Regions from separate parts of the Homo sapiens genome. Here regions 1 and 3 are each linked to region 2. Evidence: promoter capture Hi-C in human tissues and cell types (Jung and others, 2019). All regions are on one chromosome and are shown on one strand. The core of a region is centred on a gene start or on the middle of the fragment in contact, and the rest is flanking DNA. Distances in the headings are between cores, read along the strand shown.

Region 1 (4,292 bases), core at 1,517-4,016, 500 kb after region 2:
TGCATCTGCACGTGTCATGTATCAAATGCTGTAAGTCCTAGTCATGAGGAAAATGAAAACCAAAACCACAATGAGATAGATACCTCTTCACACCCACTAGGATGGTCATCGTCAAAACTACAGAAAATAACAAGTGCTGGTGAGAAGATGAGGAGATTGGAACTCTCAGACCCTGCTGGTGGGAATATAAAATGCCGCAGCCACTGGAAACAGTTTCTTATAAAAGTAAACGTGCAAGTCCTGTGCAACACAGCAAGGGCACTCCTAGGTATATACCCAACGGGACTGAAAACAGGCATTCAAACAAAAACTTGTCCATGAATGTTCATAGCAGCTGATATGGTTTGGATGTTTTTTCCTCTAAATATCATGTGGAAATGATCCCCAGTGTTGGAGGGGGTGGGAAGTGACTGGATCATGGGGGTGGACCCTTCACGGATGCCTTGCTGCCACCCCTTGCTAATGAGTGCTTTCTCACAGTGAGCTCCCGGGAGATGTGGCTGTTTAAAAGTGTGCGGCGTCTCCCCCCACTATGTTCCTCCTGCTCCCATCATGGGACGCGCCATCTCTCACTTCCACCATCAATAAAAGCTCTCCGAGGCCTCCTGAGAAGCCTCCGCAAGCCAATGCCAGTGCCATGCTTACTGTCCAGCCTGCAGAACTGCGAGACAAACACAAATACCAGTCTCAGGTATTTCTTTACAGCAACAAAAGAACAGCCTAATATATGCAGCAATATTCACAAGTACCAAATGGTAGAAGCAACCCAAATATCCCTCAACAAATGACGGATAAACAGAATGTTTAAGTGTATACAGAAGAACACTATTCAGCCACTGTCTCACAGTGAACAAGTCCAAACACATCTACCTCAAAGTCCAAGGAAGCTGACAGGCCAAAGAAAGAGGCTGACAAATTCACATCTTTTTTTTTTTTTTTCTTTTGAGGCAGAGTCTTGCTCTGTCGCCCAGGCTGGAGTGCAGTGGCGCCATCTCGGCTCACTGCAAGCTCCGCTTCCCGGGTTCACGCCATTCTCCTGCCTCAGCCTCCCGAGTAGCTGGAACTACAGGCGCCCGCCACCACGCCCGGCTAATTTTTTGTATTTTTAGTAGAGACGGGGTTTCACCGGGTTAGCCAGGATGGTCTCGATCTCCTGACCTCGTGAAATGCCCACCTCGGTCTCCCAAAGTGCTGAGATTACAGGCGTGAGCCACCGCGCCTGGCCCACAAATTCAGTTCTTAAAAAGAAACATTTAATAGGGACTTAGAAACAGAAGCCATGTCAGTCTCAGGCTACGGTGAGTCAAGATGGCGGCTCCCTGCGCCGTCACCACCCAGGCCCAGGGCTTCTATTGCCATAGTGCAGGGGACATGCCTCAGAGGGGGTGGGCAGGAATTTCCCTAAGGCCAGGACTTGTGATAAGGATGTGCTCTTACACAAGGAACAACAGATGAACGGGAACTCTCAGAGGCATTCCCGGAACTGAGGTTAATCAGAAGCCAACACGACAAACTAGCGTCCAAGATGGAGCGGCTTCGGCCTCCATGATCCGCCCGCGCCGCCCCACTAATCCAGCTCTGACCGTCTCACCTGCCCTCCTCTTCCGCGATGGTCCCTGAGCCTTAGGGAGGGTGCTTGGGGTTGTCTGGCTTCAGCAGCGGTGCCTTGGCGTCGGAAAACAGGTCGGGCCCGGTGAGAGTCCCAGTGAGGGAGGGTCACCGGCTGTTGAATCATCTCTAGTCTTCAGGATACCACGACTTCTGTTTTCTCAGAGAAAATAAAACAACAAGAGATACATAACATTAATAATTTGCACACAAGGATGACAATCAAAAGGGAATTTGTATTTCAGAACAGTAACAAAAAAGAACCTATTTCATTAAGAAGCCGACTAAAAGCATCGTGAAGGAAACTAAAACCCGGTTTTTCTTTAGAGACTTGTAGCCAGTGAATGATTCAGGATTAGCCCAAATTGTAAGCAAATAATAACTCAAAAACAACGGTCAGAGCTAGGATCTAAATTTTTCTCTCTCTAGTTTCCCCATTTCTACCAAGGATAAATCATAGTAGGACCAGTTTATTTGCAAAATAAATTTCGGTCTCATTATACTTGGCCTATTTGCATGAAGCGTGGCAAGAATAGTTACCAGCCCTAGAGGCTTTTTTTTTTTTTTTTTTTCCCTGTGACAGGGGCTTGCTCTGTCAGCCATGCTGGAGTACAATGGTGCAATCAGAGCTCACTGCAGCCTCAGCCTCTCAGGCTCAAACACTCCTCCTGCCTCAGCCTCCCGAGTAGCTGGGACCCTTGGCACACCCCACCACACCCAGCTCATTTTTTATGTTTTGTAGAGACAGGGTCTCAGCATGTTGCCTAAGCTGGTCGGCTCTTTTTAAGTTGGCTTTGCTGGAACTTTTTTAGGGAATTTTGGACTCAACTTATTAAAAGCCTCAAGGGTAGGAAGCCAAGCGAAGGATTCACTGAATGAAATTGAAGTATTTTACCGCAAATTGTGTTTCTTTGCCATGTCTTGAAATAGCCTTGCAAAGCTTTCTCTTGTGGGGAAAAGCTGCATTCTGAAGAGAATCCTTTTCCTTTTTCAGGACTTTTCCCTGATTCAAGAGAGAATCAACTCTGGTAAGAAACATTTACAATCTGTTCTCTCTGAAGCTACCTGGAGGCTTTCTCTGTGTAATAGGAACTTGGTCACCACAATCCCTCATTAACCCAGACATTCCTTCTTTTGATTCCAGGTCTTTAGATAGTAACTCCTTCAACCAATTGCCAATCAGTAAATCTTTGAATCTACCTATGACCTGGAAGTCCCTGTTTCAAGTTGTCCCACCTTTCCTGATCGAACAAATGTATGTCTTCCCTGTATTGATTGGTGTCTCATGGCTCCCTAAAATTTATAAAACCAAGTTGTGGCCCAAACACCTTGGGCACTTGTTCTCACGGTCTCCTGAGGCCGTGTCATGGGCCACAGTCTCTCATATTTGGCTCAGAATAAATCTCTTCCAATATTTTACAGTTTGACTCTTTTCGTTGATTTTTTCATGCCTTTACTTTTGCAGTAGTAGGTAGGGGTTTCCCCAGTCCACGTACAATATCCATTTTCCATTTTCCTTTTTTTTTTTTTTCCTGAGTCTCTATTGCCCAGGCTGGAGTGCAATGGCACAATCTCGGCTCACTGCAGCCTCTGCCTCTTGGGTTCAAGCAATTCTCCTGCCTCAGCCTCCCCAATAGCTGGGACTACAGGTGCATGCCACCATGCCCGGCTAATTTTTGTATTTTTAGTATAGATGGGGTTTCATCATGTTGGTCAGGGTGGTCTTGAACTCCTAACCCCAAGTGATCCGCCCACCTCGGCCTCCCAAAGTGCTAGGATTACAGGTGTGAACCACTGTACCAGCTTCAATATCCATTTTCATAAAGCATTTAGGTAAAGGATATGTAATGCCTTACATAAAGCCTGTTTAAACATCTCGGCTTTCATAACTCTATCACACAAGTCGACTTTCATAACTCGACGTCTTTCTGTTCTGCTCCCAGGAACTTCTTTTTCCCACCTCCAGACCATTTTACCCTCTCTTGTGAAAAAGGATGTGGGTGCCCCACAGGGGCTTGATCCAAGGGACCCTGGCCCTTCTGTCAATCTTATCTTGATTAACCCACCTCAACATTGGCCCCCGCAATTGTTGGTCAGTTTGCTCAGTGTAACTTTTGCCTTCCAATTTTTATAGTTAGAGTGCCTTCTCCAATCTGGCAAAAACTGTTTTGGAGCTCTTTACTGTTGAGGGACCAGCGGGGGCTCCCTTTGTTCACCCAACTTTCGATAGTGTTGTATTAAGACCTTTGTGAATAACCCCCCATTATTCATTCCATTGCTTAACAACCATGTACAGATTCCACCCCGCTAGGATGCACCCCATGACTCTCTCCTTTCCTTTTTCCTCTTGGTTTCACCCCATCCACTTTTTACCTTTTTTTTGAGATGGAGTCTTACTCTGCCACCCAGGCTGGAGTGCAGTGGCAGTCTTGACTCACTGCAATTCTCCTCCCTCAGTCTCCTGAGTAGCTGGGATTACAGGTGCGCGCCACCACACCTGGCTAATTTTTGTATTTTTAGTAGAGATGAGGTTTCGCCATGTTGGCCAGGCCAGTCTCGAACTCCTGATCTCAGGTGGTCTGCCCACCTCTGCCCCTCAAAGTGCTGAGATTACAGGCGTGAGCCACCAGGCCTGGCCCATTTTTTACCTATTTAAAACTAATCGTTTAAAAATTTTCCCCTTC
Region 2 (3,960 bases), core at 175-2,674:
GCAGGCTGGGGGCTCCGGGATGCCCTCTACTCGGGCTGGGTCCGGTCACTGGCCACGGACTCGCTGTTGGGGGCGGGCGTGAGGGTCTCCGCCTCATCCTCCACCGGGAGGTGGGGGCCGGCCGGCTCGGCCGCCTGCTCCAGGTCATCCTGCACCTCCATGCCCCTCTGGATGAGCTGCTCCAGGGTCTTGGGCAGGGGGTGGCGCAGGAAACGCTTGAGCTTGGGCTGCAGGGTGCCCACCACGTACTGGATGATCTCCTCCTCGTCCGCGTCCACGTAGAGCGTCTGGTACAGGTCCCGCTTGCGCCACAGGAACTGGTCCAGCGGCTCGCCCTGCTTCTGCGGCAGGTCCAGCTCGCGCTGGATGGCCTCTCGGGACAGCGTGCCCTCGCTGTACTGCAGGAACTCCTTCTTGAACTCCACCCAGTTCTTCACGGAGCCCTGCTTGAACTCCCACCACTTCTTGGCCGGCCCGTTCATGTGATTCTGGATCTGGGACAGCCAGTACTCCTCAGAGCCGCCCACCTGCCGCAAGTACTCCTCTAGGTGGCTCAGGAACTCTCGAGGGTCCTCGAAGATCTGCGTGTCCACGCCGGGGCTGGGCTGCCCGTCCTCGCCGGGGACCCACGGCTGGTACTGCTGGGCCTCGGCGGGCTCCTGCCCGGGCAGCTCGCCAGCGGCTGGGGGCGGGGTGATGGCGTAGGGGCTGACGGTGTAGTCGTAGCCGTCTGCCTCGTGGCAGTAGCTCTCGGGACCCCCCACGCCCACGGAAACGGTGTGGCGGGCTGACTCGCTGCCCACCGGGTACTTGCCGCCCGTGGACTCCAGGCGGTCGGCCCAGCGCTCCAGGCGGTAGAACACCTCGCGCCACACGTGCATCTCGCGCTTGACCCAGCGCTCCAGGTTGGCGATGGTCTCCTGGCAGCGGCACAGGCAGGCCTTGATGGACTTCTTCCAGCGCTGCGAGTCGCTCGTGGGCACGTAGCCGTCCAGGTTGCTCTCCAGCTTCCCGACCGACCGGTGCAGCCCCTTCAGCTCGCGCTCCACCTGCTTGGACACCTCGGCCAGCAGGTGCCGGTGCGTCCGCCGCACGTGCTCCAGCATCTCGGCCCGGCACTTCCCGATCTGCAGGATCACGTTGGGCTTGGCCACCTGCCCGCCCCGCGGCCCGGGGTAGGCGTGGAGCCCGCCGCTGGTCCGGTGGTCCAGCTCCATCTGTGCGCAGGTGCTCCGGCAGGCGGCAAACTCCTCGGGGCGGACAGAGGGTGGTCCGGCGCTGGGGTCCGGCGGCCTGGGTCCCGTGCGGAGCTGCGGGGAGCGCCTGTCTGTCGCTGCGGGCCGGCGGCGGGGCCGGCGGAGCACGCCCGGGGAGGCAGGTCCGGCTCGGCTGCTGCGGAGGGAGGACGCCGCGCCCGAGCTCTGCGCTGAGTCCTGGCCGCCGGCTCTTTATGCAGCCAGCGAGGCCCGTGGGCGGCCGGCTCGCCGAGCCCGGTTTCTCATTGGCCCAGCCGCAGGCTCCCCGCCAGCGCCCCGCCCGCGCCCCTGCAGGCCCCGCCCTGCGCCCACTCGGCTCCCGGGCGGCAAGGGACGGGAGGTCCCACCCCCTGCACACATGGCGGGGCCAGGATGACTAATCCCTCCGCTCCGTACCTCCCACCCCGGACGGCGGGGCTCATTCAGCCTGCGGGGACCGAGGGACTGAGCCGGGCACTGGGCGCCCCTCCCACGCCCCCTCCCGGGCGCTGGGCGGGCTGTCATCTGCTGCCTCCCAGGGTCCCAAGGTGGCCTTCCTCCTCTCCACTCGCCTCTCTCTTTGCGGGGCTGGAGGGGGCTGGCGCTGGCCACTGCTCTCCTGGGTCCTCACTGCCCCTGACCCCGCCCACCCAGCTCTGCAGGATGTGCAGCTGAGCCCGGGAAGGACCCTCACCATCAGCCTCTGTGCCCAGGGGCTCAGCAAGTCTCCATGTGAGCTCCCAGATGTGGCTTTGAGCTCCCACTCACTCCTGCCCGGGTCCTGAGTCCAGGTCTTGGGCTCTGTGTGAGGGACGCACAGCCAGGCAGAGGCTCGCTCTGCCTGGCCCTGGCGTTGGTGTGCATGGGTGACAGGGGCCCACGTGGCAGTGACTGGACAGGGCTGCCCCATGCCCCCATACGCAGGTCTCTGGTGAGGCCCAATACTTTTCTGTGTTTCCAGGGAAATCTGGCAGCTGCTACCTGGGGGGCTGGGGTTTGGAGGACATGGAGGGGACATTTAGCCCCCAGTGAAGGGAATTGGGCCCTGAAGACCCTGGCTATATCAAGAACCTGGCCAGAGGCTCCAAGACTTCTAAGGGGATGGAAGAGGGGAGGAGAGAGGGAGACAGGGAGGGAGGTGGAAGGAGGGAAAGGAGAAGGGGAGGGAGGAGAGGCGAGGAGGGAGAGGGAGGGGGGCCGGTGCTGGCAGCACAGTGCCATCAGGAGAGGCAGAGGGAAGCCAAGCACCATATAAGGAGCGGGGCTCCGGAAGCCGAGACTCCCTCGGGAGGGAGGTCCCTTCTGCCTCCCTGGCAACCTGGCGGGGGTAGGGACGCCCTTCCTGAGTTACTCCAGTGCTGGCTGGATAGGCATGGGTCTCAGGTCCTCTGATGTTACCCAGGCAGGGGTGACACACACCATTCCCCACAGCCAGAGGGCCATGAGGACATCATCGCTGACAATCAAGACATCTTGTTCCTGCTGCCAGCTGCCCTTTCCCTCTCTCAGACACACACATGCTGCACACTCACACCCCCACATACACACTCATAGCCCCCACTCTAACCCCACCCCACACACTCATGCCCTCACTCACAGCCCCCACACACACTCATACCCCCCACTCATAGCTCCCACATACACACTCATACCCCCCACTCATAGCTCCCACATACACACTCATACCCCCCACTCACAGCCCTCAGCTCCCCCCAGCATCCCCTGTCTTATTCAGGCACTCAAGGGCACACAGGTGCCCACTTGCTGGAATCCCCCCTCCCTGCCAACCCTCTGAGCCCCCCCCCAACCGGCTCTCCCGGGGAGCCCTCTCCCAGCCTCAGAGCCAGTCTGTCTCCTCCTTCCTTCCGCCCCTGGGGGGGAATGTCTTTCTGGCAAAAAAACTCCCCAAAAATGGCTCTCCTGGCATTTCTAATTAAAGGTAAGTGGGCGGACAGAGAAGGGAGGGCGGAGGGGCACCGCGGAGCTGGGAGGGGGAGCCAGGCAGAGAAGTCTCCAGCACAGGGACCTTCCCGCTTCTCCACTGCGGAATCCCAGGGAGAGGAGCTGGGTGGGCACATGCGGGACGGGCAGACGCCAGCAGCCTTGGGTGAGTGCAGCCAGCGGTCACCGAGGGCCACATGTCCGGGTTGGGGCCAGCCTGAGCCTGTAGGTGTTGTCTGGGTGCTGGGCACTGACCGTGCATGTGTGTCCATTGTGAGAGCCAGCACTTCAATGACCAGGGGCCAGCCCCGCCAGGGTTTACAAGCCCGTGTGGCCTCTGACGTCCCCGCCAGGGCACAGCTCTTAGGCCTCTGGCCAGCAGTGGCCTCCAGCTGCCACCCCCACCCAAGGCATCAGCAAGCTGACAAGGAGGCAGGACTGGGGACACGTGAGCCAAGGTCATAGGTGGTGCCGCTGCCTCAGTTCCCTCACCTGTGTGGAGGGAGCCAGGCCTGGAGAAGGGTGAGTGCCCAAGGTGGCCCGGTGAGCAAGGCAGGGCTGGGCAGGAGCCAGGCCCTTGGTGAGGAATCCTGGCGTCCTCTGCTCAATGCCCCGTGGCCCATCACCACCCCTGTCACCTGCTAAACAGCAAGCCAGAAGTGGCCAAGCCGAGACCGGTGGGAGAGCACAGTGCCTGCCCTGGATGGCACGAGGGCAGGCAGCGTCGGGGGTGCCACGCGGAGCCCCGTCTTCCCCTCCCCAACCCCCTCCAGCAGGGTCTGCA
Region 3 (4,189 bases), core at 1,113-3,612, 480 kb after region 2:
AAGAAGAATCCCAGGTGACCACACAGCATCAGAGAAACTGCAGGTAATGAGGAACTTTGGAAAGCAATCCATCGTGTTGTCAGTAAAACCTCTGGCTCACTCCCGAGCTGGGCATGCATGGATGTGACCCTCGATGGAATAGACTATGAGAACCAGGTGAGGGGATCTACCTCCACCGAGACGTGAGAGTGACCTGCATACCCAAACACCATGAGGCTTTAAAGACTGAGCTGATGTGGAAGCCACAGCCTCTGCAGGTTGCTCTGCACTTGCAACATAAGCCCAACCACATCAATTGCTGCTAAAACAAAACTAGCAGCATTCTCCATACCACTTAAATAAGACACAGAGTCTCACAACATTCAAAACGCCCAGGACACAATCCAAAATTACTTCTACAAAAAATCAGGAAAATCTCAATGAGCAAGGAAAATGGCAATCAGTAGCTGCCAGTGCTGAGATGACATGAGGGTTGGAATCACCAACATCTTTAAAGTAATTATCATAAGCATTCTCTAGCAAGTAATGGCAAACACTCTTGAGATAAATGGAAAGATAAGAAGGCTCAGGGAGAAAGTGGAATGTACAAAGAATGACCAAGTGGGAATTGCACCACTGGAAACATAATCACCAGGATAAAGCAGTCTCTGGCTGGGCCAACAGGAGAATGGAAATGAAAAGGGAAAGAGTTGTTATGGCAGTTGTCCAATTTGAACAACACAAAAGACACTGATTTAAAAAAAAATGAGGCAGGGCTCAGTGGCTCACACCTATAATCCCAATACTTTGGGAGGCCGAGGCAGATGTATCACCTGAGGTCAGGAGTTCAAGACTACCCTGGCCAACATGGCAAAATCCCATCTCTACTGAAAATACAAGAATTAGCTGGGCATGGTGGCAGGTGCCTGCAATCCCAGCTACTCAGGAGGCTGAGGCAGGAGAATCACTTGAACTCGGGAGGTAGAGGGTGCAGTGAGCCAAAATCGCACCTCTGCATTCCAGCCTGGGTGACAGAGGGAGACTCTGTCTCAAAACAAAACAAAACAAAAAATGAACAGCACCTCAGGAACAATACCAAAAAGTCCAACAGCTGTATAATTGGTGGCCCAGAAGGAGAGGAGAAAGAGTGGAGTACAGAAATGAGATCTGAAGAACTAATGACTGATAATGTTTCAATTTTGAAAAAGGACATAAACCTAAAGATTATAGATTCAAAAGCCCAGTGAATTCAAATAGGATAAATACAGATGCAGATATATTATCATTAAACTGTTGAAATAAATTGGTTTTGTCACAAGCCAGCATTGTCACTGTGGGAGAAAAGAGATCAAAAGTACACAAGGAAGGAAGGAAATACAGAATATTATGGCCATGGGAAAGAGGTGTCAGTGTGAATACATAGAACAGCACACTTAAGCAACAATCCCAAATGATGGGGCTTTCTACAAAACAGTTGGCCTTTACTCTTCAAAAGTGTCAGGTCACGAAATAAATCCATGCTGAGGACCCGTTCCAGGTTAAAGCAGACTAAAGGGGCTGGACAACCAAGTGAAACGTGTGAGCTTGGATTAGATGCTGGACTAGAGAAGGCTGTGAGGGGGACAATGGCTGAAATGTGAATGAGGTCTATAGATTAGATTATAAGTTGTATCAGTGCTGATTCTGTGGTTTTGATCATTGTACTATAGTTATGAAAAATGTTAAGACTTGGAAAATCTATATAAAGCAGACGGCATAATTCTTGTACTTTTTTTGCAACTTTTTAATAAACCTGAAACTATTTCAAAATGAAAAGTTAATCCAAGCTGTCTTGAGTAGAAGTTAAAACAACAACAACAAAAGAAAATTGAAAAGTTAAAAATGAACCCCCAACAGAATGTTCCCCTTTATTTTTCTTTCATGTAAGGACGCAGGATATGCATTTTGCTCAGCTACCACCCTTCACTGCATCCCATTTTGAGAAGTGGTATTTTCTTCATTCATCTGTTCTAGGTTTTTAAAAAAATATTTAAGATCTTCTCTTTTTAAAGAATCTGTTCATTTGGAATGTACTTTTTGCATTTTTACTTGTGAAAATATGTATTTATCCTTTTTGTTATGAATGTATGACTTCACTGTGTCAGAGAATATGGTCTTAAGAGATACAGAAAACTTTTGAGAATGATAAGATCTGGACATGCTAGATGAAATCAAAGCCCTGGATGTCCTTGTTCAAGCTTCCAGGGTTGAGTGCCTGAGTGCCTGAGTGCCGGGGGCATGTGGCGTCCATCACGCTCACAGGGTGAGAGCCGAGGAAGCAGTTTGTTTCACTGAACATTAACTTGAGAAAACAAACTGTCCTCCCCACATTTTCTCAGCCTTGGTCACTGTCCTTTCAGGAGCTCAGAGACTTCTGGGTCTGCTCCCAGTCTTCATGGTCCCTGGTGTCCCCACAGTGTGGAGCCCCTTGCCCTACTTTTGGGGACTGTTAGACAAAGAGGGGATGCATCAGAGCTGAGGCTGGGGCTGAGTCTGGAAGGGGGTGGACCTGCATCTCACCCCGGGCTGTGATGGCTGCATCCTCCTCCTTGGGCCTCCAAGGTTGCTGCGTAAGAACCCCAGGAATCCTCCCCAGTACCTCTGTCCTCTGTCAGGCCCAGCCCAGGTCTGAGGGAAGGGGCAGGAGGGGGATTCAGGCGAGGGTCCCTGGGATGCAGACCCCTGTGAGGATAGGGCTGGAGGGGCCAGGAGGACACATCCCAGTGGGCACAGAGGAGGCGTCCAGGGGCAGGACCAATGGTTGAGGGGAGAGAGCAGGGGTCGGGGCCCTGGCGAGGTTCTGCCTCTGCTCCCAGTGTAGACCTGCTGCCTGCGTAATGGACAGGGTTCTCCTGATCCTGGGGCCCATGCTGGTGTATGCAGAGAAAGGTGAAGACACCAGGACGGGGTGGAAGGAAAGGCCAGCTGTGTCTCTGTGGTGTAAGGCGCATGTTTCCTTGAGGACAACGCAGGCCTGCTGTGCTGAGTGCATTTTGCCCTGTGACCCTGCAGCGGAGTGGGATGCTATGTGGCTTCACACCCACGGCTGTGAACACCGGCCCCAGGGTGGAGAATGTGTGCTCAGGGTTGAGGGTGTCACCTGAGGTGCTATGAGCTTGGGGTCTTTGGGCATCTTCACATGGTAGTGGCTGGGCCCAGACCCAGGTGTGCTCGGAGCCCATGGCTCTGCCCTCACCCCTCCTCCTGCAAACTGAAGCCTGTCATGCTACCACTGCCTCCACACCAATGCCAGCAGGCCTACAAGCCAGTCTCCTGCAGTGCCCAGGAAAGCCTGGGTTTCTTCCAGCTTGCGGTGGTCCACACAGGGCAGGGCCAGCCGGGACAGTCCCTGGAGAGGGTGGGGGTGGGCTTCTGAGCTCCGTGGTTCCCTCCACGGGCTCCTGCCCAGCTGTGAGCAGGGCCTGGGGGTCCAGGGTTAGGGGACCTAGACTTTGAGTTCCGGCCTGGGCAGCCTCCCCTCCCTTCATCCTCCTCGTGGACTCAGCTGGGGACTCCATGCTGGGCCTCTGGATCCCTTAGGAAAAGCAGGCCGTGGGATGCCACATACGCCTGGAGGGGAGGGGAGCAGCCAGGAGTCCAGAGAGCCAATGACACCCATCTCTTTTGGGGTGACCAGATAGAGAATTGATGTACATTCCAATTCCATGGGAGGACCCTGGGTAACAGGAAGTCCTCTCCCTGCTCTGGTTCCAAAGGGCATAAGCCACAGTGCAGTTCAACTCTCCACTCTACAGCAGGCACCAGCGGGCATCCCCGGGACACAGGCACCAGTGGGCATCCCCAGGACATGCCAGCCATGTGTCTCTGTCTTCTTTCATTCTTATTTATTTGTTTATTATTTTTATTTTGTAGACATGGGGTCTCACTATGTTGCTCTGGCTGGTCTCAAACTCCTGGGCTCAAGTAATCCTCTGCCTCAGCTTCCCAAACTGCTGGGATTACAGGCATGAGCTGCCGCACCGTCACCCTCCTCTTTCTTTGTGATAATTTCTGAGTATTTTGGGGGCTAGCAGGTGCAGAGCTGGCTTGTTACTTTCAAAGGCCTCAAAGCCCCACCTGGCCAGGCCGCCACCCTGCTGTACGTGGTTTTGCATCCTCTGTCACCCGTCTAGATAAGAGAGGCACATTTTGAATTTTGGCTGCAAGCCAC

Evidence for each region. The method cuts DNA at HindIII sites, captures the fragments that hold promoters and counts their contacts. A contact is called where the count stands out against the background at its distance.
Region 1: a contact is called between a fragment that was not itself captured here and the fragment with the promoter of ARC in region 2, in 1 of the 25 tissues and cell types used here (lymphoblastoid cells).
Region 3: a fragment that was not itself captured here is called in contact with the fragment with the promoter of ARC in region 2 in 1 of the 25 tissues and cell types used here (lymphoblastoid cells).

The regions. Positions count from the first base shown.
Region 1 is chr8:143,107,394-143,111,685 of GRCh38, forward strand. No RefSeq gene overlaps it. Among named protein-coding and RNA genes, the nearest start is that of LY6L, 29 kb to the left of the region's middle. The HindIII fragment of the contact is 5,687 bases long and covers 1-4,292 here.
Region 2 is chr8:142,613,055-142,617,014 of GRCh38, forward strand. It overlaps ARC (activity regulated cytoskeleton associated protein), which reads right to left and starts at 1,425. Exons shown (of 3, transcript NM_015193.5): 1 at 1-1,425. The coding sequence starts at 1,217. The coding sequence ends at 27. RefSeq lists an enhancer at 618-1,516 and a silencer at 1,532-1,741. The HindIII fragment of the contact is 38,144 bases long and covers 1-3,960 here.
Region 3 is chr8:143,089,431-143,093,619 of GRCh38, forward strand. No RefSeq gene overlaps it. Among named protein-coding and RNA genes, the nearest start is that of LY6L, 11 kb to the left of the region's middle. The HindIII fragment of the contact is 3,258 bases long and covers 734-3,991 here.